Regions from separate parts of the Homo sapiens genome. Here regions 1 and 3 are each linked to region 2. The links are contacts of gene promoters, found by promoter capture Hi-C in human tissues and cell types (Jung and others, 2019). All regions are on one chromosome and are shown on one strand. The core of a region is centred on a gene start or on the middle of the fragment in contact, and the rest is flanking DNA. Distances in the headings are between cores, read along the strand shown. Region 1 overlaps TGFBR3 (transforming growth factor beta receptor 3). Region 2 holds the start of RPL5 (ribosomal protein L5). Region 3 holds the start of CDC7 (cell division cycle 7).

What was found. The method cuts DNA at HindIII sites, captures the fragments that hold promoters and counts their contacts. A contact is called where the count stands out against the background at its distance.
Region 1: a fragment that was not itself captured here is called in contact with the fragment with the promoter of RPL5 in region 2 in 1 of the 25 tissues and cell types used here (aorta).
Region 3: a contact is called between the fragment with the promoter of CDC7 here and the fragment with the promoter of RPL5 in region 2, in 1 of the 25 tissues and cell types used here (lymphoblastoid cells).

What each region holds. Positions count from the first base shown.
Region 1 is chr1:91,816,731-91,821,388 of GRCh38, forward strand. The region is part of intron 2 of TGFBR3 (transforming growth factor beta receptor 3); the gene reads right to left. Among named protein-coding and RNA genes, the nearest start is that of TGFBR3, 67 kb to the right of the region's middle. The HindIII fragment of the contact is 7,778 bases long and covers 1-4,658 here.
Region 2 is chr1:92,828,407-92,833,289 of GRCh38, forward strand. It overlaps RPL5 (ribosomal protein L5), which reads left to right and starts at 3,634. Exons shown (of 8, transcript NM_000969.5): 1 at 3,634-3,711. The coding sequence starts at 3,709. It also overlaps a transcript of DIPK1A not described here. RefSeq lists enhancers at 3,383-3,432, 3,436-4,074, 3,603-3,922, 4,075-4,712. The HindIII fragment of the contact is 19,619 bases long and covers 1-4,883 here.
Region 3 is chr1:91,498,062-91,502,778 of GRCh38, forward strand. CDC7 (cell division cycle 7) reads left to right here and starts at 2,790. Exons shown (of 12, transcript NM_003503.4): 1 at 2,790-2,887; 2 at 3,593-3,770. The coding sequence starts at 3,656. It overlaps LOC105378856 (a long non-coding RNA gene), which reads right to left and starts at 2,787. Exons shown (of 3, transcript XR_947599.4): 1 at 454-2,787. RefSeq lists an enhancer at 3,432-3,631. The HindIII fragment of the contact is 7,471 bases long and covers 1-4,717 here.

The sequences.
Region 1 (4,658 bases), core at 1,582-4,081, 1.0 Mb before region 2:
GTAAAGTTATATTTTGCACATCAAAAGCAAAATGAAGCATTAAGAAATTTAGTTATATACATTCTTTCATATCCCTTTACATAAGCAGAATACAAAGTACTTACTTTTTTTCCCCCAAATGAATACAGGATTTCAACAACATTAAGACATGATTATTTTCACTTACTCCCATATAATAGGTATTCTTATTAAAGAAAACATCTTAATGTCACCATATATGAATTCATCTAATCTCTGAGTACTCATTTATCATCTCTACAACTACACATTTGACAGAACCAAACTGTGGCCCTAAGAAACAAGAATTACTGGCATAGCTAAGAATTCAAGAAATCAGAATACAGTCTCCAATTATGCATTTACTTCAAATAAGAACAATAACTTGAAACTCTGTGTTAGGCTTTGAATTCACCTCCAGCCTGACTTTAAAAAGCTACCATGAGGCCTAACTCCAGCTGGCAGTAGTAAACATCCCTGGCTATCTAACAATATTTTTATAAACAAAGCATCATAAAGAACATAACGTTCAAACGGCATGGAAACTGTTTTCCACGGTCCATATTTGACAATCTTTCAAAAAAATGTTAATATTACACATATTAGCACTGTGTAATATATAAGATGTAACCCCCTCTTCACACCAAGATCAGTTGCAAAAGAACACTATGATCATATTTCAGAAAGTAACATGTAAGGAAAAAGAAAAAATAAAGAACACTATGACCTTGGCAAAATTCTCAAGTGTTCAGACAGAAACTTCTAGAAGTGCTTGTTTGTTTGTTTTCAAATTCTGCTTTTTGAAATTACTCACTTGATTTTTAGGCCAGAAAGGATGCAAACGTCTGAATTTCTGCAGTCACCTCCCTCCCACTGCTTTTAATTGCTCTATAAAGCAATCCCTGTGGATACCTATCTTAAACTGCCCTGGCCTTGCCAGGACAAATGTTGGCCCATGTATTCCAGTAAAGCCATGAGTATTCTGAAGGTCAAACAAAATACATATTATTTCCAATCAGAAAGGAAGCCTGTGCTTTCTGGAATAAGGCCCCAGCTCAACCTTGACTTGGTGCGCTATGAGGCAAATAAACCAAGAACTGGGAATGGCCTTCCTTTTTAATCAGTACTTTCTGAAGGATGCTACTGATAACAGAAAAAAAAAAAAAAAGTCAATATACTTGATAATTCACATCTCCCTCTGTCTTGGCTGGAGTTTTTTACAGATGCATTTACAGATATTTAAAATAATGATCATAAATAAAGCTTTAAGTTTAGAGTATATAAATTTTTATTTTTCCCCCACTCCTGAAAAAGGCTTGATGGTTACTTAGCTTTTTCTTTTCCTTTTTTTTCTATTTTACCAAACAAGTTTCCACAAGTCCTTCCTACGCGTGTCCTCACAGCCAAGCAAAGAGCAGTGAGATTTCTCACCATTAATTCACTCTTCATTTCACATGTTCCTACAGCACCAGCTGTTAGTTTATATTTTCAGTCTTTACTATTAAAAAAAAATTTCAACTGCAACTGCACCATTTCCCCTTAGCCCCAGCCTTTTTTTTTTTTTTTTTTTTTTTTTTTTTTTTTTTTTTTTTTTAGGAAAGTTTAGGACAGCAGAAAAACTGCTGAGCTGTGACACAAAGAAAAGCTGACTCTGCACATGCCTCATTGTTTTCTATTTTCATTCCAGCACAGTTGTGGCTGGAAACCAGCCTTCAGGATTCCCCGTGGACCTTGCCAGCCCTGGTCCCTGGTGTTTTAAAATGTTACACTTTATACACTACTCATAGAGGTGTGATTCAATTGAGTATGTTCCCTGTGGTTCTGAGTGAGGCTAATATATATCATGTATCTTTGGAGAAGTAACCAAAATATGTGTTTAGGGAAAAGGAAAAAAATAGGATCAAGGGAGTATTCAGAGATGTAATTACACATACTCAAGTGGGACCTTTTGTGTGTGTGTCTTGGAGGTGGGAGATTTAATGTAAACACAGACCACGTTTGTGCTTTCTGTTATACACATCCTGCATCACCACACACTGAGCACACATGTGTTAAAATGCTGACACATTCATTACAAGAACATCATTTATCCTATTACAAGTTTTAGAGTTTTGCATGTCTTTTGTTGATGGTGGGGTTTTTTCCAGATTTTCTTAGTTTTCTTCCTCAAATACACTTGATAACTTATTTTTAAATGTGAGAGCATTATTATAACACCAACAGCATCCTCCTGCAATCTATGGACACAGATTATTTTGCCAGAGTAAAACAGATTCCAAAAGGCTGTTCACACCTTCTTTGGGGGACCTAAAACACAGGGTCCAGGAAGAGCTCAGAAACAATCCTTAAATCCTGATCATCGCCAGGTGTGGTGGTTCATGCCTGTAATCCCAACACTTTGGGAGGCCGAGGCAGGTGGATCATGAGGTTAAGAGTTCAAGACCAGCCTGGCCAACATGGTGAAACCGTGTCTCTACTAAGAATACAAAAATTACCCAGGCATGGTGGCATGCGCCTGTAATCCCAGCTACCTAGGAGGCTGAGGCAGGAGAATCACTTGAACTCGAGAGGCAGGGGTTGCAGTGAGCTGAGATCGCGCCACTGTATTCCAGCCTGGGTGACAGAGCAAGACTCCGTCTGGGAAAAAAAAAAAATCCCGACCATCATCCCACTCCACTGACCTTGTAAGCGAGGCCACTCCTCAAAGAGCTAGGGATCCCACAGGCTAAAAATAACCCTTTGACCCACATAGAAATTACAACTCAGAGGAAGCTGAGACAATTCATCCACTGAGAGCCATTCTCCTGTTTGGAGAGGGCCTACAGGCATCAGCAGCACCTAAACATACAGCCTTTCCTGGTCATGATTTATTTCTTAGCATGACAGTAAATCCATAGCTTACAATAGCAGGACGTTGCTGTCAGACACCAAGGTCTCTCAGCATAGCCACTATCCTGAAGTCATGAATCACACCTCCAAGTCCAGTGACAGGTTCAGAGGCTTTACCACCCCCTCCCTCCCCTAAATCCACAGGATGCCCACTCTGCTTCTCTGCTCATGCGATGATTTCATTAGTTCAAAGATATTCTGCCTTCTATCATTTTTCTCCTTACAGTTCTTAAGAGAATGAACCAGCTTCAGAAAATGGGGAAAGAAAAAACAAACTGATCATCAGATGAGGGTTCAAATCTTGAACTGGCTTCTTAGAAGCTGTGTCACTTTATGCAAGCCACAGTCTTTCTCAGTCTTAGTTCCAGATAAACAGTGAATAGCAGCACATTCTTTATGAGATTATTATAAGACTCAAATGAGAGAATACACAAGAAAATACCTAGCACATATTAAATGCCTGCTAACCTTTTACCTATGAGCAATCATAATGCTCAATTCATACTTTTCAGAGGGTGTAGTCATTCAATAATAAAGACCAGTAGAAATATTTTAAATCTTTTGTAATCTTCTCAGCCAGGTTTGGGACAGCAACTGAACTGTCCAACCTCTCTCTAAAGGCATTACATCATAACTGTAATTACACCAGGCTGTAACTGATATCAATGTAAATACACCTACTGTACTACACCATAACAACATCACTGTTATGGTACTATAAAGTATTACAGGCATAGATGTTAACTGCCACAGTATTTATAATAAACAAATACTTTAAAATAACCAGCCGGGCACGGTGGCTCACACCTGTAATCCCAGCACTTTGGGAGGCCGAGGCGGGCGGATCATGAGGTCAGGAGATCGAGACCATCCTGGCTAACACGTTGAAACCCCGTCTGTACTAAAAAAATACAAAAAAATTAGCTGGGCGGGGTGGCGGGCACCTGTAGTCCCAGCTACTCGGGAGGCTGAGGCAGGAGAATGGCGTGAACCCAGGAGGCGGAGCTTGCAGTGAGCAGAGATTGCACCACTGCACTCCAGCCTGGGTGACACAGCGAGACTCCGTCTAAAATAATAATAACCTAAATGTTCATCAAAAAGGGTGTATCTATATCATGAAATACATATGCTGCATTTAAAACACTGTTATTTGTACAGACAGAAATATCTTATGACATGTTCTTTTTGTATGTAAAGAATGATACAATTTATTAACCTTCTAAAACTATGTGTATTTGTCCATATGCATGCACATACATGCATAGAAAAAGGATTAAATGGATAACTCTAACTATAAATGGTTCTTACCTAAGGTAGGGGTGATGCTAGAGACGGGTTGGAGACACGAGAGGAACTCTGACTTTGCTCTCCATCCTTCTATGAGGTTGACACAAAAGTAATTGCAGTTTTTTCCATTAAAAGTAATAGTAATGGCCGGGCACAGTGGCTCATGACTGTAATCCCAGCACTTGGGAGACTGAGGCAGGCAGATCACCCAAGGTCAGGGGTTCGAGAGCAACCTGGCCAACATGGTGAAACCCTGCCTCTACTAAAAATACAAACATTAGCCAGGTATGGTGGCACACGCCTATAATCCCAGCTACTTGGGAGGCTGAGGCATGAGAATCACTTGAACCTGGGAGACAGAAGTTGGAGTGAGCCGAGATCATGCCACTGCACTCCAGACTGGGTGACAGAGATAAGACTGTCTCAAAAAAAAAAAAAAAAAAAAAAAAGTAATGGCAAAAAACACAATTACTTTTGCACCAACC
Region 2 (4,883 bases), core at 2,384-4,883:
AGGCTGGAGTGCAGTGGCGCGATCTCGGCTCATTGCAACCTCCACCCACAACATTCAACAGATTCTCCTGCCTCAGCCTCCCGAGTAGCTGGGACTACAGGTGCCCACGACCACGCTCAGCTAATTTTTGTATTTTTAGTTGAGATGGGGTTTCACCATATTGGCCAGGCTGGTCTCGAACTCCTGACCTTGTGATCTGCCCGCGTGGGCCTCCCAAAGTGCTGGGATTACAGGCGTGAGCCACTGTGCCCAGCCAAATCTGAGTTCACTTTCATTTCAAATAATAAAAGCTATATTCTAGAAGGAATAATAAATAACAAATAGCTCCCATTCTAGCGCAGGTTTTTTGTTTTTTGGTTTTACAAGACAGGGTCTTACTGTATCACCCAGGCTGGAGTGCAGTGGCAAGATCATGACCCGCTGTAATCTCTGCCTCCTGGGCTCATGTGATCCTGCCGCTTCAGCCTCCCGAGTAGCTGGGACCACAGGCACGTACCACCACGCCCAGCTACAATTTTTATTTTTTGTAGAGATGAGGAGTTGTCATGTTGCCCAGGCTGGTCTCAAACTCCTGACTTCAAGTGATCCACCTGCTTAGGCTTCCCAAAGTCCTGGGATTACAGGGGTGAGCCATGACACCCAGCCAATGTTTTGTTTTTTATTTTGAAATAATTTCAAAACCACTGCTTGGGTTAAGAACCGTACAAAGAATTTCCATATACTCTTCTCCCAAGTTCCCCACTGTCACCATTTTAACACATTTTTGCCTTATTAATCTCTCTCTTTACATGCACATATATGTGTATGTATATACACACATGTAATTTTCTTCCTAAGCCATTTACTGGGACCAAGTTGCAGAAATAATGCCCACTACTCCAAAATAGTTCAGTGTGTATTACCTTAAAAAAAAAAAAGAACTCTCATTCATAACCAGTCTACCTATGAAAATCAGAATTTAGCCAGGCTTGGTGGCTCACACCTGTAATCCCAGCACTTTGGGAGGCCAAGGTGGGGGGTGGATCATCTGAGGTCAGGAGTTCGAGACCAGCCTGATCAATATGGAGAAACCCCGTCTCTACTAAAAATACAAAATTAGCCGGGCATAGTGGCACATGCCTGTAATCCTAGCTACTCGGGAGGCTGAGGCAGGAGAATCGCTTGAACCCAGGAGGCAGAGGTTGTGGTGAGCCGAGATTGCGCCATTGCACTCCAGCCTCAGCAACAAGAGCGAAACTCCATCTCAAAAAAAAATCAGAATTTAACATTGATTCATTACTATCACCTAATCCAGACTTCAGTAAAGTTTCACCGATTGTTCTGACAATGTCCTTTGAACAAAAGAAATACAAAGACTTCTTATTTCCCTTTTTCCTTTCTTGTCCAGGATGCAATATGGAATCACACATTGCATACAGTTGTCATGTCACTTTGGTCTCTTTCAGTCTGGAATATTGTTTAGGCTTTCCTTATCTTTCATGATCTTGTCATTTTTGAAGAGTACAGGCCAGTTACTTTGTAGAATTATCTAAATCTGGATTTACGTGTAGTTTCATCATGATTAGATTTGGTTGGTACATATTAGATAACTATTTTAGATTAGATTATGTAAATTTGGTAGGAAGTGTTTTGTGTTCTTCTCAGTGCATCAGGAGGCATATAATGTTAATTTATTTTTTCTTTGCTTTCCTTTTTCTTTTTCCCTAGAGATAGAGGTCTTCTTATGTGCCCAGGCTGGTCTCGAACTCCTGGGCTGAAGTGATCCTCCTGGCTCAGCCTCCCAAAATGTTGGGATTACAGGTGTGAACCTATAATGTTAATTCATCCCACTATTGGTGGTTTTTTAACTTTTACCACTTGAATAAGATGCTGTTGGCTGAGGATGCTGGACAATTACCCCCTAGCTCCTGGTGTCACCAACTGCACTGGCTGAACCAGCCATGCTAGCCACAGACCCCTGACTGTGACCAAGGGGAATAGGTATACATATTTTTAATTTTCTTGTTATGGATTTATAAGGTAAGAAGGAGAGGGATAAGGATGATAAAGTATATTTAATTTAACATGTTGTTTGTTTCATAACTTCTTTTTTTGGATTTTATTTTTTATAGAGACAGGGGCTCACCAAGTCTCCCAGGCTGGTCCCGAACTCCTGGGTTTAAGTGATCCTCCTGCCTTGGCCTCCCAAAATGCTGGGATTACAGGCCTGAGCCAGCACATCCAGCCTGCTTCATGACTTCTTTCTTTTTTTTTTTTTTTGAGACGGAGTCTCACTGTCGCCAGGCTGGAGTGCAGTGGTGTGATCTCGGCTCACTGCAACCTCTGCCTCCTGGGTTCAAGCGATTCTCCTGTCTCAGTCTCCCGAGTAGCTGGGACTACAGGTGCGTGCCACCATGCCCGGCTGGTTTTTGTATTTTTAGCAGAGATGGGGTTTCACCATGTTGTCCAGGATGGTCTCGATCTCTTGACCTCGCGATCCGCCTGCCTCGGCCTCCCAAAGCGCTGGGATTACAGGCGTGACCCACCGCACCTGGCCTGAGCTACCGTGCCCGGCCCACAACTTCTAAATATTCAGATGAATAGTATGTGGGTCTTCCTATGAACCCTTGCCCTAAAACATGCAGAAGTTAGGAGTCGGCCTGTTTCCAGGCAGACTTTCCTTCCTGATGCTTTTGCCTCCAGTGTAAGCAGGGCCTGACCAAGACATGGAGCACCTTTGGTAGGCTAATAACTTGATAATCCACCAAAATGAAGGTTTTTAAATATTTTCTATAAATACGAATTGAATACCTCTTTCTTTACCCTTTCAAAGGTGGCTCCACAAAAGTAGAATCACACTTCCTGTGAAAAGTGTTTTAAGTTTTCTCCTCTAGAGCTCTGTTGACATCGGCCATAGCGAACTCTGTTTATTTTTCCTATTATATAAGGAATTACAAGTTGGAATCAGAAGTAATTGGCATCCTAATCCTGATTTATTCTAGTGGCAGTGTTTTGGAGTCACTTAACCCTGTCATCCTGGTTGGCCGTCCCTTCTCCCAGCTCTAACGGTGAGCAGCTGATACCCTGCTAGGTGCTGGAGAGTCAGAGGTGGACATCAGGGCCCACCTCGAAAAGTTGACAGTCTGTGGTGGGCTGAAGCCAGTAGAAAGCTGCTGTAGGAAGGCAGAGGAGTGGCCCCTATCCCAGGCTTGGGGCTCTCAGGGAAGGCTTCCTGGGGGTGAGATGGGAGGGTGGGTCCATATGCTCTTGGACCAGAATGAGTAGCCCAGAGAAGGCAAGAGGGCTCCCAAGCAAACTTGTCCTATTTAATTTTTTTTTTTTTTCCTGCTTAGAAAAGCAAAATGCGTTATGAACAAAACAAAACAAAACAAAACAAAACAAAACAAAACAAAACAAAACAAAACGCTGTAGCAAAGAAAGCGAAAGGCTCCAGTAATCCTCCCTGCTCCTCCTCACCGCACGGATCCTGTGAGATACCCCGAGCATTGGAACCTGGAGAGCTTGGGCAGGCATTCACCCTCCTTCCAGCAGGGGGCGGAACGTAAAACGCCTTGTGGCCGACGCCCTCTCTCTTTCACACGTCACTGGCGTGACCGTCCGCGCTACATACTGCGCCTGCGCAAGGGCTGTGGCCCTTTTCCCACCCCCTAGCGCCGCTGGGCCTGCAGGTCTCTGTCGAGCAGCGGACGCCGGTCTCTGTTCCGCAGGATGGTGAGTGGATGCCTCGGTCTCGGGGCTTTAGATGCATGGAGGTTCCCTTTTCTTGCCCGTATGCCAGCCTAGGGCCCGTCTCGCGCGTCGCAGGGGCCGGATGGCGTTAGATTGCTAGCTCTGACTTGGTCGAGGTGCAGTTCCCAGCGTGGCCTTAAATGGCTGCCGCCCGGTGCGCGAACTTGGGGGGAGGGGTTGGCGAAGAAGGGTTGCGTGAGCTTGGACGGCGGATTGGGGAGAAGGGTGAGTTTAGTAGACAGCCTGAGTGCGGATACTGCCGTCTAGTGTGAGGGGGCGCTGGCAAGCGGCCGGGCGTGAGAGGTCGCAAGCAGTCGACCTCAGCCTAGCTGGGGAACGCCAGAATGGAGGGGGGCTGCAGGTCCTCGGGTCCCACTCGACCTCCGAGTACCGAGTACTTCGTGGGTTTTCCAGGAGAATGTCGGAGCCGGCAAGTCTTAGATTTAGGAAGCTTGTGCCCGTGGGCTGAGCAAGTGGCTTTTAAGCCAAAATTGTCAGTGGAGCTTGGAGGCCGAGGGGTCCCTGGGCCCCGGAAGCTCCTTTAACATGGAATACGTGCCTCCTGCCTCTTCCTCTAGAGTCCGTCGCCGGATGAGTTTTTAATTATTGGGGTAGGGCCCCAAGGGTGGGATGAAATGTTGCTTTAGCTGATGGGGAACAGTGCTGTTTTAGTGGGGGAATTACTGCTGAATGTGCTCTTGCCCAGTTAAGCTTTGTGGCAGGTAATTTAGGCTTTTGAAAAACATAACATGGGAAGCGAGAGAGGTACGTAGTTGTTATTTGAGGCTAGGTTTTCGAAGTGGGACATAGCGTGTTCCGAACAAACCGACGTTTGGCATCACTGATTGCTGTCTGGAGCAGTGCTTCGCAAAAGTTTGGCACAATTACCGGTGCTGGTCCTTGAAGAAACAAATATGGAAATTGAAAGCGTTTAAAACCTTTTGAAAGCAATATAACAATAATTTTATACCTGTTAAATGTAATAAATTGGGGCCTGCATTTTGTATGTTTCTTTTATTCCATATTTCTCTAAGGATTCATTTTTATTGTTTTATGAAACTACTAGTCTGTGACATGGAAGGTAGAGGAAAAAGATTCTTGACCCTAGTTGCTTGTGAAACCTGGGATTCTACAAGTGACAGTTGTCTGTTTAC
Region 3 (4,717 bases), core at 1,540-4,039, 1.3 Mb before region 2:
CTGTCTCTACTAAGTAAATACATAAATGAATGAATAATAAAAATAAATAAATAAAACCTAACTTCTCATTGTACATTAATTCCATAGCCATTTATTAAATCCATACTATGTGAACAGCCATGTGCTAGGTATTAGGGATGGGATCATTGACAAAGGGGGAAAAAGTACCCATTATAAATTAACTAATACAAGCTAACAATGTCCAGGCCTATGGGACCAAGCACTTTACATGTATTATGTCACTTTATCTAATTTAATCCCTATAGCAAAACCAAGCAAGTATTTTATCCATGTTACATTTTTGAAATAGGAGTGTCACAGATATTGAATAACTTGCCCAAGTTACACGGCTAGTATAAAGTTTATAAACAATTTGACACTGTAGCCACTATTCTATTTGTGCGCCCTACCCCCCAATAAAGACAAGAAACCAAACTAAGAAACAAACCAAACCTCAAGAGTTGTCTCCATTTGTAGATCTTTTGTTCGTCAATAAATTCAATATAGTCTTTCTGTCTCACTCCAAAGCTGCTCTTTCTGAAGGCTCTAATGACTATCTCTGATCAATTCTGTATCCTCACTACTTCTGTGAAGCATTTGCTATAGCTGACCACTTTCTTCTAATTGTAAAACTTTCTGCTCTTGACTTCTATGACATCACCTTCTTACCTCACAGACTACTACTTCTCAGTCTCTTGCTGGTTCTTCCTCCTCCTCTGCTCAACTATGAAATGTTGGAAGTTATCATAGCCCAACTCTCCATCTACAATCTTTGCTTAGATAATATCGTATAGTCCAAGACTAGGTTTCATCTATAAATTCATAACTGCCAAGTTTATTTCTTCACCCTGAACTATACCCCAGACCAATATATTCATCTGTTTCTTTGACATCATCACTTGCATATCTTGGACTTGATTATTGTTAACGACCTCCCGATAATGACCACCAGGAACACAACTATAGCTGAGCAACTTGGATGTATTGCTTGTTTCAGTACGTGAGAATGCACACCATGGGGAACCATGGGATGTCTTAGGAAGAGGGTGTTAAAAAGGACTTGTTATAGAATTTGAGTTTGTGTTAGGAGATTTACGGAAGGGTGCAAGAAAGAGGGACTTTGGCCTGGATTGGAAGCTGTAAGGAAGCAAGGATAATTCTATAATTGGGTATTTTAATAAGTATTATGTAGAAGGAAGGAAGACTAGACTGAGGTTAAAACTATAATTGGTAAAGAAGCAGCAGGCACTCATATTAGCTAGGATAAGGAGATATTTGATCATTTTTATGGCTTGGGCAATGTTGATGTTGTGTCTGTGTTCACATATGATTATAGAGTGATCTTACTTTTGTCTTGATCTATCACGGTCACAACTCTGTCTTGTCTGATGTTCTGTGAAATTGTTTATGTTCAACAGAAGAATACCAATGCTTGGCTGTGATTGCCAGGCCAGCTCAAAGCAACAGCAAACCAAGCTGGTAGTACCAGGCCATCTCCTGGATGTCAAGGTCTGCTTTTCTCTTTCTCGGTATCCACACTAGAATCCTTGATTTACTCTCTTCCACCTCACTCAATCAAAAACCATTACCTCACAGACTTCCCTTCTATGTGGCACTACCACCCACACATATGCTAGCCCAAAACCTAAGATTCACTGTTGATGATGCCCTTTTCTTCATTTTCCATAGCCAATCACCAAATCCCATTGTCTTCTTTCTTTTATTTCTTCCGCCATTGTTCTGGTCCAAACTACCATTATGTTTCTCCTAAACATAAAGTGCATCCTATTTCCTCTGCTTCCACACTTGCCCCTCTACAATCCATTCTCTTCATAACAGATAGATCATATTACTCCCTTGCTTTAAAACTTTCAAATAGCTTCCAATTGTACTCAGAACAAACACTAAACTTCTTACCCTGGCTTTCAAGGACCCTGGTCTGGCTTCTGCCTAACTCTCCACCTTCATCTATCTGGGACTATCTTGCGGCTCACTCACTATGCTTCCCCCACACTGGCCTTTCCTGCCCTGCCCCTGCAACATACCAAGTTCCTCTTTCTCTCTGCATTTGCCCTATCCTTTCTTTGCCAGGACAACAGTCTCCCTACCAGCTCTTTCTCATCCAGGTCTCTTTGAGAGGGCTTCCCTGACCATCTAGATGCCACCTTCCTGGTCAGTATTTCCCTCAAGTAGTAATCAATGCCGGAAAGAATACTGTTCATTTATTCATCCGTTATTGTCATCGCTTCATTGGAATTTAGCTTCCTACAGGGATGGTGTTTATCTTGCTCACTATGATTCCAGCCCCTAGAAAAACCCACCTACCTCATAGCCAAGGGCTCAGTAAATAGTATACACTGCCTTCCTGCCACTGTGCTAATTTCTACTAACACAGCCACAAACAATCAGCAATTACATTTTCTGCTTGTTTTTAACGGGGAAGTAGGGCACTCAACGAAAAGGAAATAAAAGCAGAGTCAAGAAAGTGCCTTTTATCCATGGAGTGCCCAATGTGTTGTGCGGCCGGCCACGTATATAGGGATGTGTCAGCACCTGAGATTTTTCCTTCTCTGAGCTAGCTTCTTTCCTGGAAATCATGCTGGGCCCTTAGCCTTATGGTTCACCCTGTTTTTTAAGATCATCCACGGGCTTCATTCCCGTAACCGCTCTTCTAGCTGGCCAAGGCGGCGGGAAGAAACCCCACCCTCTTGCGCAAACGCCCAGTAGCGGAATCCGCGGGGTCGAGGGCTTTAGTGTGCGCATGTGCAACCAGAGCGGCGGCGGGAAGTGTTGCGCAGGCGCATCCGATCGACTCGGTAGGTGGGGATCTCTTGGAGACGGCGACCCAGGCATCTGGGGAGCCACAGAAGTCGTACTCCCTTAAACCGTGAGTTTCCGACGGTTTGTTCCATGGCGCGGGATTGTGAGGGATTAGGAACGAATTCTGGATCGTGACTTCGGTTTTCTCGCCGTGCAGTTCCTTTTCCCGCCCCCCTTCGGATCCCTCCGACCTGCGGCGGGAAAGTCGCGCGCCTGCGCACTAAGCATCTGGTTCGGTCTCTGGCCCGAGGGAAGCCGGTCCTTCCCGGCTGAGCTCGCGGCCAGCGCTGGCCGGCGGATTCCCATTCATTCACCCTTCTCCTCCTCCGCCCAGTACTCGTGGCCAGGGTCGTATCAGTTCTCCGTCAACTTGCTTGGGGCCTTGGACGAGCCTCCTGGCGCTTCCTGTCAGTGGCGAAAAGGTTTTCTCCCTCAGTTCTTTTCCTGACTTCAAACCGCCCCCGGCGCTCGGCCCCTCCCCCACGCGGTCCCGCTGGCTGTGCCGGACTGGCAGCCTCGCCGTTTCCCACTGCGCCTGCTGCTGCGCGGGTGCCCAAGCCGGGAAATTCTCCCTGCAGCCCCCTGCCGGTGTTTCTGATAGGTGAAAATAAAGCACATGGAATTCCTTAGACAAGGCCACAGTATGCCCTACTGTGGAGGTTTGGACACATCGTGCGTTTGAAAATGTTTGCCCCTTTGGGGGGCAGTAGCATGTTTTTAGTGCGTGGTTTAGCGAGTGATCTAAATTTCTCTAGTGTTCTAATTTTCACAGCTGCTTTGCTCCCCCTGTGGATGTAACCCCTTAGCTGGCATTTTGCATCTCAATTGGCTTGTGATGGAGGCGTCTTTGGGGATTCAGATGGATGAGCCAATGGCTTTTTCTCCCCAGCGTGACCGGTTTCAGGCTGAAGGCTCTTTAAAAAAAAACGAGCAGAATTTTAAACTTGCAGGTACGTGTTTAAATCCAAAGATGTACAGTTATAAAGATTTTTCAGGCAACAATTCTGTGTTTTCAATTCCTCTCAAAAAATAAGATTGAATCTTATAAAGTGAATTGTATGTTTCTATAGGACAGTGTTAAAACAGAGCTTCGTATGATCTAAATGTAGGACTGAATTGCGATTTGGAAGACTGTAATACAACCTGTTTTACGGTTGAAGTTGCTATGGTCTCAGTATTGGTAATTAAGAATGCAGAAATTTGATGATGCCCAAATTAAATTTCTCTTTTGTATCTGTGTTCTTATCTCTACTCACCACATTGCCTTAAGCTTAAATGTAGAAATTGACACTGGAGATCATCACTTAAGTATTCAAAAGCAGAACTCACAGACAAAAAAATATGAAATGTTTGTAGCAATAATAAAGCACCATATCTCAGTGTACAGCATGAAATGTTCTTTGACCGTAAACCAGACCTTAGGGTGAATAAGACAGGGTCAAGCAGTGCCTGCTCTTGTACACTCGCATGTGTACCTTCATTTCTGCTCTGGCACAGGACCTGGGACATAGTAGGTATTTGTTAATAATAAATATTTGTTAAATAGAGGAATTCTAGTTGACTGTATTTTTTTTTTTCTGAAAGGGTAGCCAGATCATCTTTCCCATCTTTGTCTTAAGTGAATTCTGTGCTTGTCTAAAAGATACTTATTTTGACCTTTTGTCCATATATTCTTTATAACCCCACCCTAGAAAAATATGACATCACATACTTTCTGCTTTGATGGAAGTCAGTTATCCCACTTACCTAAACTTGAAACTTTAATCTTCAGCTGATGCTTTTTATTTGTTCCCCATATCGTCACCTAGCTTTATTTCTTTTTAGTAAGTATGGCATTGTGTCTTCTTTCCATTCCCATTTCCACCACATTAATTAATTTCCTTACACTTTGTTCCTG